Linked DNA regions of Homo sapiens: regions 1, 3, 4, 5, 6 and 7 are each linked to region 2. The links are contacts of gene promoters, found by promoter capture Hi-C in blood cells and fetal thymus (Javierre and others, 2016). All regions are on one chromosome and are shown on one strand. The core of a region is centred on a gene start or on the middle of the fragment in contact, and the rest is flanking DNA. Distances in the headings are between cores, read along the strand shown. Region 1 holds the start of BAD (BCL2 associated agonist of cell death). Region 2 holds the start of TMEM179B (transmembrane protein 179B). Region 3 holds the start of TRPT1 (tRNA phosphotransferase 1). Region 4 holds the start of CYB561A3 (cytochrome b561 family member A3). Region 5 holds the start of FERMT3 (FERM domain containing kindlin 3). Region 6 holds the start of PLCB3 (phospholipase C beta 3). Region 7 holds the start of TRMT112 (tRNA methyltransferase activator subunit 11-2).

The links. The method cuts DNA at HindIII sites, captures the fragments that hold promoters and counts their contacts. A CHiCAGO score of 5 or more calls a contact.
Region 1: a contact is called between the fragment with the promoter of BAD here and the fragment with the promoter of TMEM179B in region 2, in 14 of 17 cell types (total B cells, total CD4 T cells, erythroblasts and 11 more). The highest score is 15.8, in total B cells.
Region 3: a contact is called between the fragment with the promoter of TRPT1 here and the fragment with the promoter of TMEM179B in region 2, in 1 of 17 cell types (non-activated CD4 T cells). The highest score is 6.4, in non-activated CD4 T cells.
Region 4: a contact is called between the fragment with the promoter of CYB561A3 here and the fragment with the promoter of TMEM179B in region 2, in 3 of 17 cell types (neutrophils, megakaryocytes and erythroblasts). The highest score is 17.9, in neutrophils.
Region 5: a contact is called between the fragment with the promoter of FERMT3 here and the fragment with the promoter of TMEM179B in region 2, in 4 of 17 cell types (fetal thymus, erythroblasts, total CD8 T cells and 1 more). The highest score is 12.2, in fetal thymus.
Region 6: a contact is called between the fragment with the promoter of PLCB3 here and the fragment with the promoter of TMEM179B in region 2, in 5 of 17 cell types (activated CD4 T cells, naive CD4 T cells, M0 macrophages and 2 more). The highest score is 11.4, in activated CD4 T cells.
Region 7: a contact is called between the fragment with the promoter of TRMT112 here and the fragment with the promoter of TMEM179B in region 2, in 2 of 17 cell types (non-activated CD4 T cells and naive CD4 T cells). The highest score is 8.7, in non-activated CD4 T cells.

The regions. Positions count from the first base shown.
Region 1 is chr11:64,283,070-64,285,928 of GRCh38, forward strand. It overlaps BAD (BCL2 associated agonist of cell death), which reads right to left and starts at 1,596. Exons shown (of 4, transcript NM_032989.3): 1 at 1,562-1,596; 2 at 1,113-1,307. The coding sequence starts at 1,299. It overlaps GPR137 (G protein-coupled receptor 137), which reads left to right and starts at 2,779. Exons shown (of 7, transcript NM_001170880.2): 1 at 2,779-2,859. RefSeq lists silencers at 1,476-1,765, 2,116-2,855. The HindIII fragment of the contact is 5,985 bases long and covers 1-2,131 here.
Region 2 is chr11:62,786,142-62,788,841 of GRCh38, forward strand. It overlaps TMEM179B (transmembrane protein 179B), which reads left to right and starts at 1,261. Exons shown (of 5, transcript NM_199337.3): 1 at 1,261-1,386. The coding sequence starts at 1,291. TAF6L (TATA-box binding protein associated factor 6 like) reads left to right here. Exons shown (of 11, transcript NM_006473.4): 10 at 119-247; 11 at 376-1,201. The coding sequence ends at 1,155. It also overlaps a transcript of TMEM223 not described here. RefSeq lists an enhancer at 332-531 and a silencer at 782-891. The HindIII fragment of the contact is 7,473 bases long and covers 1-2,700 here.
Region 3 is chr11:64,224,936-64,227,635 of GRCh38, forward strand. It overlaps TRPT1 (tRNA phosphotransferase 1), which reads right to left and starts at 1,251. Exons shown (of 8, transcript NM_001033678.4): 1 at 1,115-1,251; 2 at 851-934; 3 at 564-645; 4 at 1-35. The coding sequence starts at 925. It overlaps NUDT22 (nudix hydrolase 22), which reads left to right and starts at 1,339. Exons shown (of 6, transcript NM_032344.4): 1 at 1,339-1,492; 2 at 1,700-2,197; 3 at 2,633-2,700. The coding sequence starts at 1,718. RefSeq lists enhancers at 157-879, 1,480-1,999, 2,000-2,517 and a silencer at 1,045-1,454. The HindIII fragment of the contact is 9,418 bases long and covers 1-2,700 here.
Region 4 is chr11:61,360,542-61,363,241 of GRCh38, forward strand. It overlaps CYB561A3 (cytochrome b561 family member A3), which reads right to left and starts at 1,341. Exons shown (of 7, transcript NM_153611.6): 1 at 1,192-1,341. It overlaps TMEM138 (transmembrane protein 138), which reads left to right and starts at 1,833. Exons shown (of 5, transcript NM_016464.5): 1 at 1,833-1,879. RefSeq lists enhancers at 892-1,111, 1,230-1,951, 1,362-1,851. The HindIII fragment of the contact is 4,335 bases long and covers 1-2,700 here.
Region 5 is chr11:64,205,240-64,208,003 of GRCh38, forward strand. It overlaps FERMT3 (FERM domain containing kindlin 3), which reads left to right and starts at 1,482. Exons shown (of 15, transcript NM_031471.6): 1 at 1,482-1,575; 2 at 2,112-2,285. The coding sequence starts at 2,126. RefSeq lists enhancers at 91-653, 491-750, 654-1,216, 1,651-1,730, 2,051-2,130. The HindIII fragment of the contact is 2,303 bases long and covers 353-2,655 here.
Region 6 is chr11:64,249,937-64,252,817 of GRCh38, forward strand. It overlaps PLCB3 (phospholipase C beta 3), which reads left to right and starts at 1,594. Exons shown (of 31, transcript NM_000932.5): 1 at 1,594-1,812. The coding sequence starts at 1,714. RefSeq lists enhancers at 1-386, 1,681-2,326, 2,327-2,881 and silencers at 1,406-1,875, 2,363-2,576. The HindIII fragment of the contact is 12,307 bases long and covers 1,169-2,881 here.
Region 7 is chr11:64,316,176-64,319,087 of GRCh38, forward strand. It overlaps TRMT112 (tRNA methyltransferase activator subunit 11-2), which reads right to left and starts at 1,384. Exons shown (of 4, transcript NM_016404.3): 1 at 1,274-1,384; 2 at 1,089-1,190; 3 at 883-972; 4 at 285-793. The coding sequence starts at 1,351. The coding sequence ends at 686. It overlaps ESRRA (estrogen related receptor alpha), which reads left to right. Exons shown (of 7, transcript NM_004451.5): 7 at 1-568. It overlaps PRDX5 (peroxiredoxin 5), which reads left to right and starts at 1,946. Exons shown (of 6, transcript NM_012094.5): 1 at 1,946-2,211. The coding sequence starts at 2,041. RefSeq lists enhancers at 1-403, 1,561-1,760 and a silencer at 1,851-2,010. The HindIII fragment of the contact is 12,949 bases long and covers 1-2,912 here.

The sequences.
Region 1 (2,859 bases), core at 346-2,845, 1.5 Mb after region 2:
AACAGAAAAAAAGAAAGCAAGCTATGGGGTCCAATCTGAGAGAATCGAGTGTGGGTGTTTATCCGTAAGAGAGCGAGGGGAAAGAGGCCTCTTAAGCCTTCTTAATCCTGAAAATGGGGAGGAGGTCTTTTAAGCTGCAGTGCCAGAGTGACATGACCTAGTTTTCTATTTTTAGAGATGGGGTCTGGCTATGTTGCCCAGGCTGGTCTTGAATTCCTGGGCTCAAGCCAGCCTCCTGAGTTGCTGGGACTACAGACATGTGCCACCCCACCCAGCTTGACCTGGTTTTTGTGTTCAGAAGATATCTGTTGTTGTTCCAGGTGCCAAGGCCAGTGCTGGGCACAGGGGTGCTAGAGCCTACTGAGAAATGGACATAGAACCCCAGTGTCCATCCTTCCATCTTGGAGCCTGTGCTTCTCACCCCACACAGCCCTGCTGTCTGGGAGGACTGTCTGCCCCTTGAGGTCATCTGCCCCTGGCCACTGTGCCAGGACAGTCCTGCTGTGGGTACGAGCCACAGGGCAAGAAAGAACACATCTGGGAGCTGGAAGGCCTAATCCCAGGGAAAGCATGTAGCCTGGGGCAGGGCACCAAGGAGGCTTCCAGCCCCCACATTCTAAGGAAAGAAACACCAGGAAGGTGTGGCCTTAGGCAGGCCCCTTTTCCTTTTCGGATCACTGCCTGCCTGTCACTGATTTCTGTCCTAACCCCACACTAATAGCTGCTATATATATATATATGTATTTTAAGAGCTGGAGTCTCCCTAAGTCACTCAGGCTGGCCTTGAACTTCTGGGCTCAAGCGATCCTCCTGCCTTGGCCTCCCAAAGTGCTGAGATTACAGGTGTGAGCCACCACGCCCGGCAGCAACCATTTTTTAGCTTTAATGTGCACCAGCTCTGTAATCAAGTGCATCCTATATGTTCCTGCTAATTAACTCAACAGTCCTACAATGGTGGTTATTAATTGCTGTTTTACGAAAGAGGAAACTGGGGCTCTGAGAGTTTGGGGACCGACCCAAAGCATTCAGTGCCTGTGGATGCAACTGGGATGCAGGGAGCCAGTGGGCTGGGGGTGAGGTGTCCCGGCAGGTGGAGGTGGTGGGGTACTTACCTCCATGATGGCTGCTGCTGGTTGGCTGCTCCTGCTGGTGACTGGCGTCCCACAGGAGGCCTGGGGCCTGGCGATGATGCTTGCCGGAGCCTGAGGGCCCGTCCCCTGCGGGGCTGGGGCCCAGGCCCCTCTCTGCAGAGCTGGAGTCTTCCTGCTCACTCGGCTCAAACTCTGGGATCTGGAACATGCTCTGGGCTGTGAGGACAAGATGTTACGTAGTCAAGGCACAGCTGGGGCCAACGGTGGCCCTGGAAGGCAGAGGCAGGTACCCCTGGCTTCCTCTCCCACCGTAGCGCCCCCAGGCCCGCCAGGCCTCCTGGGCCCTCATCTGTCTGCCGGGTCTGGCCTGGCAGGGAGCTGAGGCTGTCGGCTCAGGACCTCAGTCTCCCCTCAGAACCCCGGTGGACCCAGGCCCCGCCCCGCCCGTGGTGACGGCGCACAGGTCTCACCCCAAGCCCGATCTCGAGGCCCCTGACCCGGGCCTGCCGCCTCCCTCCAGCACCCCGGGCTCCGGGCCCTAGTTGCTTGGGCAACGGGAACTGTCAGCGACCTGGCCCAATCACCTCTCGGAACGTCACTCGGGTAGGTCCAGAGGCGGGGTCAACCCGGCCCGGCCCCGCCCCCCCGCCGGATCCAAGGCTCCTCGTCCGCATCCTTTTTCCTCCCTCCTTCGGCCCCGGGGCTCACATCCTCGCTGCCTCACACCTTGGGCGTGTGTGGGAGCAGGAGAGGGATTCTCTGGGGTCCCCATTTGGAACCTGGAGACCCACTTCTGCCAACAAGTCCTTCAGCCCCTCTGGGCCTTAGTTTCCCCCCAGTGAAGTGGGGATAGTGACAGCTCCCCCGGGAGCCAGTGAAAACTTTGTGAAGGGAGTGATTACTGCGGGCGAAGGCGCTTGGCACAGCCACAACTGAAGCTCAGCCGTCGGATGTGATTATTGTTGCTATTGTTACCGCTCCGCCTGGACTGGGTGCCCGGTCGGAAAGTCCCGCTCCCCGCTCCTCCTCCCAGGCGCGGAAGCTTCGCGCCGCCCGCCTCGGGGGACACCTCCCGCGCCATCTCGGGGGCACTGGAGATAAGGAAAGGAACCTCCTCCCTGGCTGGGATGGCTGCCCGGGCGCGGGAGGAGGGCCGGGGACCCGGTGAGGGAGGACCGTAGGGCCCGTGGGGGCTTCACGCCTGGCAGGCGGCCGGCCAGGTGAGCAGGGCCGCGGGCGCGCCGGGGCGAGGGGCGGGCCCGCGCGGGGGATTCGGGGCTCCGCGGGTTCAGGCCCGGGGGCGGGGCCCGGGGGCCATCTTGGCTATGGGCGGAAGTTTTCTTCAGAGACCGAGGGACGGGAATCCGTTGCCGCCCCCGGCCGGGCGGCACGACCCCGATTTGGGTATAGGAGAGAGGAGCGTGGGAACTGGCGGACCCCCATACAAGTAAAGGCGGGCGGCACGGGGCACGGCCCACCCGGGGACCCCCTGGATGCGGCACGGCCCCCGCAACTCGGCCGCCCTCCTGCCGCCTCCCGTAACCCCGGGCGCCCGCCAGCGGCGCAGCTCGCGCCAATTCTCGTACGGTTTCACGCCGGGTGCGGCGCTGGACTGCGGAGCCAGCCGGGCCGCTGCGCAATTTGCGTAGCGAACGGCGCCCGCGCAGGCGCGGAGGGGGAGGGGGGCGGAGCAGCGGGAGCCGGGGAGCCGGAGCCCCGGGTCCCCACGACCTGAGCCGGCTCTCCCATCAGCGGCCTGAGGACCTGG
Region 2 (2,700 bases), core at 11-2,510:
TAGGAGGATTGAGCCCTGTCTAGGATCAGAGATAAAGGTAGGTCTTTCATGGGAAAGGGTCCTTGAGAGGGAATAAGTATCAAAGACATGCTAACTGTATTCCTTCTCTTCCTTCCAGGCAGTAGAACGAGTCCTGTACCCACACCTGTCCACCTACTGGACAAACTTGCAGGCTGTGCTGGATGATTATTCAGTATCTAATGCCCAGGTCAAAGCAGATGGACACAAAGTCTATGGAGCCATTCTGGTGAGTACCGTCCCCTTCCAGCCTCCCTTCCCTGCATGAGCTTAGCAGCCAAGCAGGCTTACTTTGGAATATTTGATGGGCCCAGGTTCCTCGAATTTTTTGCCTATCTTAGTCCTTGGCTCTTACAGGTGGCGGTAGAGCGACTGCTGAAGATGAAGGCCCAGGCAGCAGAGCCCAACAGGGGTGGCCCAGGTGGCAGGGGGTGCCGGCGCCTGGACGACCTGCCATGGGACAGCCTTCTCTTTCAAGAGTCGTCCTCCGGGGGCGGTGCAGAACCCAGCTTTGGGTCCGGCCTCCCGCTGCCGCCAGGGGGCGCGGGGCCGGAGGACCCTTCTCTTTCGGTGACCCTGGCCGACATCTACCGGGAGCTCTACGCCTTCTTCGGTGACAGCTTGGCCACACGCTTTGGCACCGGCCAGCCTGCACCCACGGCTCCGCGGCCGCCCGGGGACAAGAAGGAGCCGGCGGCAGCCCCGGACTCGGTGCGGAAGATGCCGCAGCTGACGGCAAGCGCCATAGTCAGCCCGCACGGCGACGAGAGCCCCCGGGGCAGCGGCGGAGGCGGCCCCGCGTCGGCCTCTGGGCCCGCCGCCTCTGAGAGCAGGCCCTTGCCGCGCGTGCATCGGGCGCGCGGGGCACCCCGGCAGCAGGGCCCCGGGACCGGCACCCGCGACGTTTTCCAGAAGAGCCGTTTCGCCCCGCGCGGCGCCCCGCACTTTCGTTTCATCATAGCCGGGCGGCAGGCTGGGAGGCGCTGCCGCGGGCGCCTTTTCCAGACTGCCTTCCCCGCGCCGTACGGGCCTAGCCCGGCCTCGCGCTACGTGCAGAAACTGCCCATGATCGGCCGTACCAGCCGCCCCGCCCGCCGGTGGGCGCTCTCGGACTACTCGCTGTACTTGCCGCTCTGAGTCAGTGGCCCCTTCGTTCCTTGTAAATAAATCCCGCCCCCGGAAATGACGTCTCCACCTTCGTGGGTCGCGCCGGATAAGGTGGGCTTTGGGCGGGGTGCTGCTGCAGCGGCGCTTCCTGGTGGTCAGGGCGCCATGGCGCTGTCCTGGCTGCAGCGCGTCGAGCTTGCGCTCTTTGCTGCCGCCTTCCTGTGCGGGGCCGTGGCGGCCGCGGCGATGACTCGGACCCAGGTGCGGCTGCGGGGCGGGGTCAGGTAGGCGGGGGAGCTGGCCGGTCTGGACATGGCGAGGCCACTTTCGCTTTCCGACCGGGCTTGCTGCTGCTCGGAGCCGGTGGACCTGGTGAGGCACGGCTGGCGCCGGCCTGTACCTGAAATGCAGCGAGGCTAATCGCGCTTTGTGGCTCCTCCTGGCCAGGTCATACTTCGAAGTTGTCCCCTCGCCAAAGGGACGGGTCAGTAGCGTCTTAAAGCACTAGGTGGAGTCGGGTTTCGTGGCTCCTGCTGCACAGCCTTACTGTGGTTCCGAAACAGAAGTCAGTGCAGAACCTGCGTCCATCCGTTAAATCAGAAGCCATTTGTGCTGAGCTTTGTCGAGAAATAAAGCATAGTGTAGTGGAGATGATCAAGCTGCCACATGATTGTAGCACAGTGTGTTAAATGACAAAATGAGAGATGGAGAAAACGCTGACGTAAAGGTAGAAGCCAATAATTTACATCGTTTACCCCAGCCAGGTAATCTGGTTAATAAACATGGGTTCATTTAATGCCTATAAAGTAGGCACTAGTGTGCCTATTTTACACCATGAGAAAACCTCAGAGATCCGCCGGGCGCGGTGACTCACGCCTGTAATCCCAGCACTTTGGGAGGCTGAGGCAGGCGGATCACTTGAGGTCAGGAGTTCGAGACCAGCCTGGCCAACATGGCAAAACTCTGTCTCTACTAAAAATACAAAAATTAGCCGGGTGTGGTGGCTCATGCCTGTAATCCCAGCTACTTCGGAGGCTGAGGCAGGAGAATCGCTTGAACCTGGGAGGCGGAGGTTGCAGTGAGTCGAGATCGTGCCATTGCACTCCAGCCTGGGTGACGAGCGAATCTCCATCGCAAAAACAAAAACAAAAACACTGGCCGGGCCTGGTGGCTCACGCCTGTAATCCCAGCACTTTGGGAGGCCGTGGCAGGCGGATCACGAGGTCAGGAGATCAAGACCATCCTGGCCAACACGGTGAAACCCTGTCTCTACTAAAAATACAAACAATTAGCCAGGCATGGTGGCGGGTGCCTGTAGTCCCAGCTACTCAGGAGGCTGAGGCAGGAGAATGGCATGAACCCAGAAGGCAGAGCGTGCAGTGAGCCGAGATGGCGCCACTGCACTCCAGCAAAAAAAAAAAAAAAAAGCACCTCACAGATAGTTATTTGTTGAAGGATATACAAGGCCTGGGTTTACTCTAAGGTTTCTGCACAGAGACCATAACTTGTGAGGCTTCTCTGAAGCTCATTGCATTCTATATTCATTGCCTATTTTCTGATCCTTCTGGCCACTGC
Region 3 (2,700 bases), core at 1-2,500, 1.4 Mb after region 2:
CAACTGCAGGAGGGTGCCCAGGGGCACGAAGCCATCTGTGGGCAGGCAGGGTGCTCAGGAGCTAACCTTGCTCTGGACTGGGCCAGGGTTAACAGGGAGCCACAGGCAACCGAAACAAAGTCTGGGCTTGGAGATCGCTTGGGCATCCTCTGTGGGACCTTTAGAAAGTCTCCCCTTTCTGGGCCGCAGTTTTTTCAACTTACATAAAAAGAGGATCTGCCTCACGGAGGGGCAGGGAGGTGAGTGCCCAGCATAGCGCTGGCCCGGAGTGCACACTCACACCACCAGCTGCACCGTATCCTCCAGGGCTCGCCCTCGGGGTAAGTGCTGATCTGGCTGCTTGGCTGGAGGGGGCGGTCACCAGGCCTGGCCCAGACAAGAACTCTCCTCAGTCTGCTGTGGACATGACAGGGGCTCTAGGCCTTGCTCTCCTCTGTGCATGGGGAGGAAGTGCACTCTGTGCCTTCCTCAGGGAGCGGTGGAGGCAGCCATCAGGGAGGAGTCGCAGACAGGCTCACGTTTCTCTCTGGGCTCAAGCCCCAGCCTCCAAGGCCCCTACTTACCAGCTCCCATGGGAAGCCCCAGCTTCAAGGCCCCATGGCGCAGGGCATAGGACAGAGCCTTGGACAGCTGCACGTCTCGGTCCTGAAAGAACCCAGCGGTGGCCCCTAGTCTCCATGGTGACCCTGCCCTACTGCCCATCCTGAACCCTCAATGACCCACTGCAGAGAGAGCCCAGAGAGAAAGGAGTGCCAGTGGTCTCCAGGAATAGTAGGACCCTTCAGCTCCGCCCCCCAGCAACTCCCAGGGAGCCTGGACTGGTGGGAGGGGGTGGGGAGGAGGCGCGCACCTGTTCTCGGGGTCTGGGAGCCCTTCTACCCCTGGACCCTGCTGCTTCCTGCCTCCCTCCTCCAGAGAAGTTCATGGTTAAGACCTGTGGGGGGCAGTGACGAGGGGGGACTGCTTTAAGGCCCCTTCCACGTCCCCATCCCTCCCAGAAAGTCACAAAGCCTCAGGAAGTGAGCGCTGGGTGGGAGTATACGGCTCATTAAGTTCACCACCCCCAAGTCCCTGCTGCAGAGAGGGAAACTAAGGCCCAGCAGGCCAGACTTGCCCAAGGTCACACGGTCAGCCAGGAGCGCAGGGAGGCCGAGCCCCGCACCCCAGATCGCTGGTGCGCCCCGCAGGGTGGTCCGGGAGGCAGGGCCGACGTGCCGACGGACCGGGCGGAAGCGTCGGGGCGGCGGGGACAAACCTCCAGGATCCTCGACCGCGGCGGACCCGCCAATGAAAAGCCGCGTGGAAAGGGGGCGGGCACTTCCGCTTCGGGGAAGGGGCGGAGCCTGAGGGACCCGGCGGCTGGTGAGCGCCCGCTGGAGGCTGGAGCTTCCGGGCCCTGGAAAGGGGTCCCCGCGCGCCCCGGGTCGGAGGCAGACCCCTGGGTTTGGGGGACATGGGCATTTGGGGCGCCTGAACCCAAGACCTCTGGATGGTAGGGATGCCCGGGCGTCCTGGATACCCTGCGGGACTCGGGGCTCCTGCGGGGAAGATGGCACGTTTTACTGCCCAAGGAGTGGTCAGGGGGGTGGAGAAGCGCTGCGGATACCCTCAGGAGGTCTGCGACAGAGGGGGCTAGCTGCGCAGCCCAGGAGTGGTAGTGGCCCCCCTGGATGACAGGCCTGGCCGTATCCTCCCCCAGAGCTGCCCCGTTCAGACCATGGATCCTGAGGTGACCTTGCTGCTGCAGTGCCCTGGCGGGGGCCTGCCCCAGGAGCAGATACAGGCCGAGCTGAGCCCCGCCCATGACCGTCGCCCACTGCCAGGTGGGGACGAGGCCATCACTGCCATCTGGGAGACCCGGCTAAAGGCCCAACCCTGGCTCTTCGACGCCCCCAAGTTCCGCCTGCACTCAGCCACCCTGGCGCCTATTGGCTCTCGGGGGCCACAGCTGCTCCTGCGCCTGGGCCTTACTTCCTACCGAGACTTCCTGGGCACCAACTGGTCCAGCTCAGCTGCCTGGCTGCGACAGCAGGGTGCCACCGACTGGGGTGACACGCAGGCCTATCTGGCGGACCCACTGGGGGTGGGCGCTGCACTAGCCACAGCCGATGACTTCCTTGTCTTCCTGCGCCGCTCCCGGCAGGTGGCTGAGGCCCCTGGGCTGGTGGACGTACCTGGTGGGCACCCTGAGCCTCAGGTGAGATTCCAGGCTGGGCACAAAGACCCAGACAGCTCAAGGGAGCTGCAGCTCTCCACCCTCCCAATCCTCCCAGCTTTGGTTTCCTCATTCCTTAAAGGGAAAATTGGCCTGGTATTTCTCTGGAAGTTTGCTCAGGGCAGTCCACCTGCCTCCCCACTGACCCCTGCCCCAGTCCTGTGAGAAACTAGAAAACACGGGAGGAAAGATTGGGCACAGGAAGAAGATGCCCTACTCCACCCCTGCCCCCTGTGTATCTCCTTTGAAGCTGGACCTCTGGTTGTCTGTCAGGGAAAGGACACCAGACTCAGGATCACTAACTCTCTTACACTGTGCCACATCAGACCCTCAAGGCCAGCAGGTATAGGCTTGCTGGTCCTGAGATGGGGCAGGGGGAAGAGGTGGGGAGCAGGGGCTGAGCCTGACCTCTCACAGGCCCTGTGCCCTGGTGGCAGCCCCCAGCACCAGGACCTCGCTGGGCAGCTGGTGGTACATGAACTCTT
Region 4 (2,700 bases), core at 91-2,590, 1.4 Mb before region 2:
CTGAAGTCTGAGTTTCACATAATTTTCACGTCACAAGATATTATTAACTTCTTGCGAAAAAGGATTCTCCCGGCTGAGCTAAAACAGGTCACATCCAGGGGTAAGAAATGCTAGTTCCCATCCAGCCCTTAGTCTTAGAAAAAGGCTCTACGCAGGCTGGGCGCGGTAGCTCACGCCTGTAATCCCAGCACTTTGGGAAGCCGAGGCGGGCGGATCACATGAGGTCAGGAGTTCGAGACCAGCCTGACCAACATGGAGAAACCCCGTCTCTACTAAAAATACAAAAATTAGCCGGGCGCGGTAGCGGGCGCCTGTAATCCCAGCTACTTGGGAGGCTGAGGCAGGGGAATCGCTTGAACCCGGGAGGCGGAGGTTGCAGTGAGCCGAGATCGTGCCACTGCATTCCAGCCTGGGCGACAGAGTGAGACTCTGTCTCAGAAAAAAAAAAAAGAAAGAAAAAGAAAAAGGCTCTACTCCAAACTCTTGCAGTGTTACTTTTATAATTTAGAACTACAAATAAATGAAGGGGTAGAAAATCAGTTTGTTGCTCTCCCTCCCCGATGGACTGGGGGACTTCAAGAATCTTGAGGACCAGATTTAGGATACAAGCCCTAAACCCTCATCTTACAAATCAAAAACACTGTGACACTGGGGCCCAAAACAAGAAAATGACTTAGCCAAGGTAAGTGGCCGAGCTGGTACAGGAATTCGGGTCCACTCCCTCTCAGCTCTGAGGATTCCTTATTCTCAAAGGTAGCTTCTGTTAAAGTCGGAACATGAGGAGTGAAGGGCTCAATATTCCTGCCAAGGAGGTAGGTGAACAAGTTACCCCTTAGCACCGGAATAATTATAGACCCCGACTTCAGGCTGTGCCTAGGTCCGGCTCAGGTGTCCAAAGAACCGTTCCAGGCACCCGAGGGGTGATCCCTGACTCCTCTGCTGGGTGCTCGTGCCAGCTAACAATGGGTGAAAATTGGGGTGAGGAGCTCCAGGTGCTTTCTGCGTCCTCTGAAGAGCTTTCGTGCCTTTATAACCACCGCGTTGGAAGGAAGAGCGCGGAGAAAGGTGCCCACTTTCTAAAAGAGAAAATTGAGGCCGAGCAAGGGGATCGCGACAGTGCGAAGCGAGATAGCAGCGGAACCAGCATTCGAACCCAGGTCCCTGAACTCCCAGCCCCGGGATCCTTCTCACCCCTAACCACAGTGGGACGAAGTGAGGCCGGGATCTCCGGAACCCGCCTCTCGCTACCAGGCGCCGGAGCTGCCGCTCCCGAGGTTCCTAGGAGATGCAGAAGACACTGCCCTGAATGCCTACAGCCGGCTGGCAATGCCGCCCCAGAGCAGAGCGGCGGGTGCCGCCTCGCCTTCTTATAGGCTCGCAGCACTTCCAGTCGCGCGCGAGGCCTCCTGGGAAGTGAAGTCCGGAGACCAGGGGTGGCCGGCTCCCAGCGCGCCAAGCTGCTAACCCCCTAACTCCCGTTCCTCCTCGGCGTTTCTTCTCCAAGTCCGAAGTCAGGGTCCAGGACTGCTGCGATGCATCAGCCCCGCCTCTCATCCCCCATCCAGAGGAGGCGGAAATGTTCAGGTGAACGCGAAGCCTCCCACTACGAGCCGGCCCTCAGCAAGGCCGTGCGCAGTGTGGGCGGGAGCCCTAAGTCAGCTAGCGGCGACGCTGGGAGGGCCCGGAGCAGGCCGGGCCCCGAACAGCGAAAGCTCCAACATGGCGGCCAGACTGGCCATAGAGCGGGAAGAGAAAGCCGGGGACTAGCAGGCCGCACGGCGCAGACGGGGCCCGCCTCCTCCATTTACTTCCGGAATTTAAAGCCGGCTTCCGGAAGCCGGGACGATGTCCGCATGACAACCGACGTTGGAGTTTGGAGGTGAGAGTGATTGACGAGGAGTGGGTTAAGTGACCAGAAGTCAGAATTTTTGGTGCTGTTGTTTTGGGCTTGGGTTTTATGCTTTGTTGTTGTTTGCCAAGGAAGCCTCGTTTTTAAGTGGATTGGGAAGCGTGAGGAATACTGCCCTAGGTACAAAGGGAAGGCGGCAGGTAGCGGTGGACGAATTAAAGAGCTTCATGAGCTTGTGAGTCTCCACTGCCCTAAACTGGAGGGGATCGTCGTACGTAGAGACAGGCATGGGCGTTTCTGCATAACGGATCCTCAAAACAGCCCTGGATGGTGGCCTATGAGTAGTGGTTAAGAGCACGGGTTTGGCGTCACAGTTATGAAGCCGGGTTCTGCTGACTTGAGACCTGGAGGAATGCCTTGAGCTCTGACTTCTGTGTCCTTTCCTGTAGAATAGGAATAATTCCCACCTTGCAGACTTGTAGGGAGGATTAAAGGAAACGATCTTGGTTGACAAGTTTATCGTGGTGTGAGTACCTAGGTAGTAGCTATCAGTGTTATTTAATGCGGCCGGGCGCAGTGGCTCACGCCTGTAATCCCAGCACTTTGGGAGGCCGAGGCGGGAGGATCACGAGGTCAGGAGATCGAGACCATCCTGGCTAACATGGTGAAACCCCGTCTCTACTAAAAATACAAAAAATTAGCCAGGCGTGGTGGCACGCACCTGTAGTCCCAGCTACTTGGGAGGCTGAGGCAGGAGAATCGCTTGAACCCGAGAGGCGGAGGTTGCAGTGAGCCAAGATCATGCCACTGCACTCCAGCCTGGCGACAGAGCGAGACACTCTCTCTCTCTC
Region 5 (2,764 bases), core at 232-2,731, 1.4 Mb after region 2:
TTTTTTGAGATGGTGTCTCTCTCTGTCGCCCAGGCTGGAGTGCAGTGGCGTGATCCAGCTCACTGCAAGCTCTGCCTCCCGGGTTCACGCCATTCTCCTGCCTCAGTCTCCCGAGTAGCTGGGACTACAGGCGCCCGCCACCACGCCCGGCTAATTTTTTGTTTGTTTGTTTGTTTGTATTTTTAGTAGAGACGGGGTTTCACCGTGTTAGCCAGGATGGTCTCAATCTCCTGACCTCGTGATCCACCCGCCTGGACTTCCCAAAGTGCTGGGGTTAACAGGCGTGAGCCACCGCGCCCGGCCTGGGTGATGGTTTTAATGCACGGCTCTTACCTGAGAACTTAGGGTGCTAAGCTTTAATTACACTTTTCCATGGTTGCAACAAGCTGCGTTTTCTAAAGCTCTCTTCCTGGACTGGGGAGGCCTTTGGGGCAGGAGTAAAACTTCCTCATTTGCTCCAAGAGTGCTGCTTTCTGGGCTAGGAAGGCGCTGAGACTAGCAGCTGGCTGGACTTCCTGCTGTTAGTTTCATCAGCTTTCTTTTCCCCTGGGAATCCCCGGCAGGCCGCCCCCTTCCCCATCTGAGTGGCGATGCTCAGGTAGCCTCCCCCATTGGCAGGACTCTGCCGCCCCCAGGCTTGCCCACCCTGCATGCTCCAACCCCAGTGTGTTCACTGGAAAGGCCGCTGTCCTGCGCAGAGCTGGTGGCGGACGTGCCTTGCTCTACTGAAGTCCACATCCTAGGGCAGGTGATGAGCAGGAGGGTATAGACCACCAGAGACCCCTGAGGTGTCACCTAAGCAGGGACTTGATGGGAGTGAGCCTCGTGGGGACTCGGGGAGGCTCATCCAAGTGGAGCACAGTGGAGGGGTCGTGTTTGGAGCTGGGTGACCTGAGGGCCCGGGAGGTTGTGGATGGTCTGGGCCAAGTACTGTTCACTTGTTCACCTGGCAGGTCTGAGTTCATGAGTTTGAAGGTAGCCCTACGCGGAGCTAGGAAAAACTGCAAAATGGACTTGTTTCCCTCTGGGGCCTTGAGGGATCCTTGGTTGATAGGGATAGCCAGGCTGGAGCCGATTTAACCTGTGAGTCCCAAATAACCTGGATACACTCTGTCGACTCCTGGGCTCTCCCTCCGGCAGCCCAGTGATGTTTCAAAGCCCAAGGTCCCCACCTCATGTGACAGGCTGAGGATGGCAGACACTTCCCACAAAAGTGGACCTAGCCCTGAACACACACAGCCGGGGGACTTGTTGAGTTTGCACTGAGCTTCCCTCCAAATGAGGAAGGGGGCGTTTTTATGGTGTTGAGTCGCTAAGCCCCGCTCTCCCTAGCTTCCTGTGCTCTCTGGGGACAAAGGTGGGGGGGCCCCTGGAACCCTCTGTGGGCTGGCAGTGTGCTTCCTGCACCCAGCGCCAGCCCGCCCTGGGGAGGGGCTGAACCCGCCCTGCTCGTGATAAGGCACAAGCAAGGGCTGCCCTGAAGGAAGCTCCAAAGAGAAAGGAGGGCAGGAAGCCCACGGCCCACAGGGGTGTAGCCCGAGACCCACCTGCAGCCCCCAGCCCTTGCCAGGAAAGGTAAGCTCAGGCCTCACTGGGACCCTGGGCCCTTCTCTTCCTTATCCTCCTGCAGCCTCTGCCCAGCCTGCCTCTCGCCATGCGGCAGCCTGAACTTTCCACCTCCCCGGAGAGGCTTTGGCTGGTTTGTGATGTTGGCATCTGAGCTGTGGGCCAGGATCGGAACTACTTCCTGGCCTGGGTACGAAGCCATGGCCAGAGTGGGCAGCTGCCCCTGAGGGTCTGGGAGTGAGCTGTGGGCTGGCATTGAGCACGGTGGTCCTGAGTGAGCCCCTTCTTACCCGGCCTCAGTCTGCCCGCCTGTAGGATGGGAGCGGATTGGACTACATGGTCTCTGAGGGCCCTCGCGGCTCAAGCGCCAGCGCTGGAGAGAGAGTCTGAGGGTACCACGGGCGTGCTGGCCTGGGTGCTCACTCCCGCCCTCCTTCATGAGCGGCTTTCCTCTGGGTGTGTCCAGGGCATCACAGAGCTCTTCTGCCCAAACCCGGAGGCCTACCAGGGCCTGCCCACCTTGCCTCCTTCCACACTCTCTGTAGCAGCAGCCGCAGCCATGGCGGGGATGAAGACAGCCTCCGGGGACTACATCGACTCGTCATGGGAGCTGCGGGTGTTTGTGGGAGAGGAGGACCCAGAGGCCGAGTCGGTCACCCTGCGGGTCACTGGGGAGTCGCACATCGGCGGGGTGCTCCTGAAGATTGTGGAGCAGATCAGTGAGTGTCCGCTGCCCGCTTGCTGAACTCGGCACCATGGGCGGCCGCCACGGGTGTCTCTGGGCACTTCCGGGCCATCCCTGCTGCTCAGCTCCCGATAATGGTGTCACGGTGACTCAGGCATTAGCTTAATCATTTGGTTCCAAAAAAGACATTTCCCCAACTTCCTCTCCCTCCCACCCTCTTCCCTCCCTCCCTTCTGCTGCAGCTGGTCTGCTAAGGATCAGACGCAGCCACAATCCTCCATTCAGCCACCAATAGGGGCAGAAGGAGTGGTCTTGTCTGGGCCGAGGCTGAAGTCACATTGCTGAGGTCTGAGGGGGTCTAGGTGACCCAGGGGCCTGCCCCCACGCTCCCTCCCCTTGGCGGAAGCTTTGAGCAGGTTGGTGACAGGCCCAGCCTGGGTGGGAAGGCCCTGCCCCCACAGGAAGTTACAGCAGAGCAGCTGTGGTATCAGTCATGGAGGACCACGGGGCTAG
Region 6 (2,881 bases), core at 344-2,843, 1.5 Mb after region 2:
CTGGCACAAGCTGGAGGTTCCACTGCCCCAGAGCTGACCTATGCCCTTTCCTCCCTCCCTGGTATACCCACAGCTTCCAGCTACTCATGTCAATTTGGCATCTCCCACCCATTTGCTTATGTATACAACAACCTTTAGGTTCTGGACAAGGTGACTGAGGCACCTAGAGAGACTAGGTTCTGCCACTAGCAAGAGGCTGCTAGCAAGAGCCGGATTTGAACTCCAGCCTGTGAGGGCAGAGGCCAAGCTCCACCTTGCATGGTTCTGTTTTCCCAATGAGGTCTAGAGGCTCCTGGGCCTCAGGAAGTCGGAGGGTTGAAATCCTCCTAAGAAGCTGTGTGACCTTGGGCAAGTCCCTTCCCCTCTCTGGGCCTCAAGTGGAGATCATAATCACACCCCACAGGGCCAGGGCTGAGAGCGAGGAGATCCGCCAGGTTAGAGTTGATGGAGAACTTGGCGGGGTGTGGAGGAAGGCCAGGGCCAGGCAGGGCTCCTTGTGGAGGTCTCAGAGCCTGGGGCAAAGGGGCCTGCAGGGGAGCTCCTCCTTTGCTGACCCCTCCTCCCCCAGAGCCAGCTGCATCTCTTTCTGGGTTTCTAGGTGACTTGGCTGGCCCCTCTGGATGAGTTCTACTTTAAACCTGCTGCTGTTACTGCCTCTGTATTGGGGGGGCTCCCACAGGGGCCCCCAGGCAGGAACCCCCCCCACCAGCTAAGCCCTGCGGGAGGGGCTGCAGCCCCCACCCATCCCATTGCCCATGCGCCTTCCCCGCTCCCATCTCTGGAACGCAGATTTCAGGGCACCTGCTGTGGGCCAGGCACTGCAGAGCCCCTCCTCAACCCTCCTGTCTGGGGACATCCACAAAGCTTCTGACCCCTCTGGGCAGACAACAGCGTTCCCCCCGCGGTTCCCAGCCAAGAGGCTCACAGTCAGGTTCCAGTCATGGGAGTCTGCAGCAACAAGAAGGGGGCTGTTCTAGGGCTCACTCTCGAAGACCAGGATGCTTGGGTCCTTAAAGGAGGTGGCAGGCGCCCGGCCTCCCTGGGCTAGGGACGGGGGAGGGGTGCCTGCCGGCGGGAGGTCCATTAGCCGGCTAAGTGCTCCCAGGGAGGGGGGACCGCGCGGCATAAGAGTGGGTGAGGCGAAGCCAGGGCAGAGGGGGGCGGAAGAAGCTTTTCCTGCATTCAGCTAAGTGCGGCAGAAGAGGGTGGGCGACAGGGCTGTGCAGCGACCCCCCGGCCCAAGTCTAGCCCTCCGCTGGTACTGCAGCCCTAGTCGCTCGGAAACCTCAGTGGGCTGATCCCGGACCGCCTTAAGCAGCGCCCTCTACACCCAGTCCCTCCAGCTGCTCCCCAACAGCCACTTCGGCCCCCAGCGCCCTCCTTCCACCACAGGCCTGAAGAATCAGGTTCTGCTGAGCCCCGCAGCAAAGCCCCCGACCCGTCCGCGTGCCCCTGCCCCAATCCCCGCTCCGGCTGCAGTCGCCGCCCCGGCCGCCAGGGGGAGCCGACGCGGTGGGAGGGGGCGGGGCCCGGGAGGCCCCGCCCCGTCCCCGCCCCGCCCGGGCCCCGCCGAGGCTCTGGTCGGTCCGGGACAGACTGGCGGGCGGGCGGGCACTGACGCCGCGGGGCCGGAGCGGGCCGCGCGGTGGGAGCAGCGGCGCCGTCGGTCCCCGTCAGGGCTCCGTGGGTCCCCGACCCGCCCCTGGCCGGGCCATGGCGGGCGCCCAGCCCGGCGTCCACGCGCTGCAGTTGGAGCCGCCCACCGTGGTGGAGACCCTGCGGCGCGGGAGTAAGTTCATCAAATGGGACGAGGTAAGCGCGCGGGCCCCTGCTCCGCCCAAATCCCGGGACTCTTTCAGTCAAGCTCGACCAGACGCTGGGGACCCCCACCCCAGCCTCGCCTGCCCGTGGCGCCACCCTCATCCCAGTCTGGCGGCGCCCCGGAAACTTAAGTCCCCGATCGTCTCCGTAATGAAGACTTTGTCCCCCCAACTCCCAGTCCCTCAGCTCTGGAAAATTTGCCTCCACTCCTTGGCGCAGAGACTTTGAACCCCAATAAACCCCGTCCCCCCGTTTTCCATTCGTTCTTCCCACCGCTCCCTGCCAGACTAATTCTCGTTCCCCGATCCTGGCCTGGTGCCCAGACCCCTGCCCAGCACTAGACTCCCCGGCTGCAGGACCCTGACTTCCAGGCTGGCTGGGGGCATCCTCATTCTGGGTGTGTGCCAGGGCGCCCCTACTCTCCCCGGTGCCCTGCCTGAACAGTCCTCGTCCATTCATCATTTTTCCCCCTGTTCTGGTTGGCACCCCTTCGCCCTGCTTCTGGATCCCAGCCCAGCTCCCTGTTCAGATGGGAGCACCCAGTCACCCCCTAGTGGAGACTTTGCCCCCCAAGTTCCTCCACCCCTGGGAACTTTGCTCCCCACTCCTTAGGCTTGGGACCTTGAACCCCAATACATCCTGGCCCCCCTTTCCCTGTCCTGCCCCTGGTGCTTCCCAAATGCCTGTGTCCCCACCTTCGGCTGCCCATCCCCATCCTGGGTGCATCCTCTTCTGCCCCCTGGGCCCTTCCTTCCCTAGGGCCTCCACCCGGCCGGCCTGAGCTTCCTCGCAGCTCCTTCCCAGTCAGGCCACGGGCCTGGAAGACTCTGGGCTCTTTTCCGGCTGGGTGGGGCCCCGGGGTAGGCGTGGGAGCTGGGGGGAGGAGATGGGGGCGTGGCCTGAAGCGGCAGGTGTGCGAGGTGGGGTGCCTGGGGGCCCCAGGGGCCGGGGGAGACCCCTCCCCCCAGGCTGGCCTGAAGGGAAAAGTTTCTTCTTTTCATTCCACTGTGATAAACCCAAATAAGGAAGTGGGAACAGGGAGAGGGCCCTGGGGGTGGGG
Region 7 (2,912 bases), core at 134-2,633, 1.5 Mb after region 2:
CACAGTGCTGCCCCTTGCAAGCCATAACGTGCCCCCAGAGTGTAGGGGGCCTTGCGGAAGCCATAGGGGGCTGCACGGGATGCGTGGGAGGCAGAAACCTATCTCAGGGAGGGAAGGGGATGGAGGCCAGAGTCTCCCAGTGGGTGATGCTTTTGCTGCTGCTTAATCCTACCCCCTCTTCAAAGCAGAGTGGGACTTGGAGAGCAAAGGCCCATGCCCCCTTCGCTCCTCCTCTCATCATTTGCATTGGGCATTAGTGTCCCCCCTTGAAGCAATAACTCCAAGCAGACTCCAGCCCCTGGACCCCTGGGGTGGCCAGGGCTTCCCCATCAGCTCCCAACGAGCCTCCTCAGGGGGTAGGAGAGCACTGCCTCTATGCCCTGCAGAGCAATAACACTATATTTATTTTTGGGTTTGGCCAGGGAGGCGCAGGGACATGGGGCAAGCCAGGGCCCAGAGCCCTTGGCTGTACAGAGACTCTATTTTAATGTATATTTGCTGCAAAGAGAAACCGCTTTTGGTTTTAAACCTTTAATGAGAAAAAAATATATAATACCGAGCTCAAAAACACTGTGTTTGGTGTCATTGGGTCAAGGGTTGGGGATACACACGGCAGAATTCGGAAACAGGGTATAGATCAACAAAAATACACAGTCATAACAAGAAAAACTGGCGCCTGGCACAATCAACTCTCAGTTTCCTCTTCACTCAGCAGCATGTTGGGGATCCCGCGGCTGATGGGGAACATACGTCCAGATTCCGGGCACTGCAGGGTGCCCTCTATCACTTCCACCTGCGGGCAGGGAGGGACAGAGCTGAGCACTGGCAGCCTCAGTGCGGGAGGCAGGTGGCCCGGGAAGCAAGTGATGGGCCGCTTCTCACCTCCAGCAGCAGGTGGTGCATGGTCCTCAGAAACTCCTCATTCTCCTCATATCCCTCAACCGGCCCTTTCGGCACCTGGATCAGACGCAACTGTGGGCAAGAGGCCAAAATTATCTCCGGGCATCCCGAACTCCCGCCTCAGCCCGGCTGAGGTGTGCCCGCCCCGCATTCCCCGGGATATGCTGGGGCGGGGTAAGGATCCTCACGTTATCGGCCGCCTCCAGGAACGCCGACCACTCCACTTTAGGTATCATACGCGCCACGAAGTTGGGGTTGAATTCCACAGGGCAGATACGGACCTCGGTGGCCTGCAGGGCGGAGGAGTTTAGGCAAGCACTGGACCCCGGCCCACCATCCCGCCCGAAAAGGGAAGACTGCCGCCGGCGGGTACCTGGAGGCGCAGGGGGAAGCCACGGGACCCCACCCCCCGCACATGCGAGCTCAGCAGATTGTGGGTAAGCAGTTTCATGTCGCCGCACAAACTCTCGCCAGGCCGGAACCGGAAAAAGGTCGTCCTCCGCTGCCTCACTTCCGGGGATGCTCCTCTCGATGCTATTGGATAGCCAGGAGAACCGGAAGTGGCGAACTTGCTGGAACTTCTCGTGTTTGTGGGAGCTGAGGTAGGTAGGTGAAAGACCTGTCGGGTCACGCGCCGCTACCGGAAGCGTCTCAGCAGGAGGTTCCTACGGCGCACGCCCAGCTTTTTTTTGCCACAAATTCTTCGTAAGATGCAAATCATATGCAAAATAGCTGCAATGCAGGAGCTCTCGTTGAATGCAAAATAAACACATTTTACTCCTACACAGGCGCCTAACACCGTCGTCCTCTGTATCCCACTTTCGGTTAAGGGGCAGAAATACCGCCCTATCTGTAAATTAGGCCCATGGAAGCCGAGCCGCACCTCATTCCTATATGCAAATTAGCTGCTCCAGTGCCGAAAGCTCCGCCCCATTTGTAGTTGCGTCGGCTGTCCAGCACCCAGTGCAAACGAGGCGTGGGTCCCGGAAGCTCTGTTCTGCGGGTGGCCGCTCGCGCCTGCGCAGTGGAGGCGGCCCAGGCCCGCCTTCCGCAGGGTGTCGCCGCTGTGCCGCTAGCGGTGCCCCGCCTGCTGCGGTGGCACCAGCCAGGAGGCGGAGTGGAAGTGGCCGTGGGGCGGGTATGGGACTAGCTGGCGTGTGCGCCCTGAGACGCTCAGCGGGCTATATACTCGTCGGTGGGGCCGGCGGTCAGTCTGCGGCAGCGGCAGCAAGACGGTACAGTGAAGGAGAGTGGGCGTCTGGCGGGGTCCGCAGTTTCAGCAGAGCCGCTGCAGCCATGGCCCCAATCAAGGTGACCGCTGGCCCGGCCGGGCCTGACATCCCCCACTACCCCCATGGCAATCCCCGTCCCGCTAGTCTGAGAGTATCGCTTTATTTCCTGCCTGCCAGACCCCTCCCCTCCGCCCGCCCGGCTCATCCCTTCAGAAGGCCCTCGTGGCTGCCCACCTTTCTCGCCAATCGTGGGGGCCTCACCTCCCGGGACAGTCCCGAGGCATTGTGTTTTTTGTTTTTTGTTTTTTTTTGAGACGGAGTCTTTCTGTGTCGCCCAGGCTGGAGTGCAGTGACGCAATCTCTGCTCACTGCAGCCTCCGCCTCCCGGGTTCAAGCGATTCTACTGCCTCAGCCTCCTGAGTAGCTGGGACTACAGATGCGAGCCACCACGCCCAGCTATTGTATTTTTAGTAGAGACGGGATTTCACCCCGTTGTTCAGATTGGTCTCGAACTCCTGACCTCAGGTGAACCCCCCCCGCCCCCCCCCGCCTCGGCTTCCCGAAGTGCTAGGATTACAGGTGTGAGACACCACTCCCGGCCTGATTTCCCCTATCTTCTGAAACAGCTGTCCCTTAGCGCCCCCGCGGGGGCTTACCCCATCCCACTCCATGACCTCCCCTCCCCCCATGGCGAATTCCCACCTTTCTGTCTTTCACTCACTTCCTGGAACCGTCCCCAGGGCCTTGGACCTTCCCCCTTCTCCTCCCAAACCTTGTGAG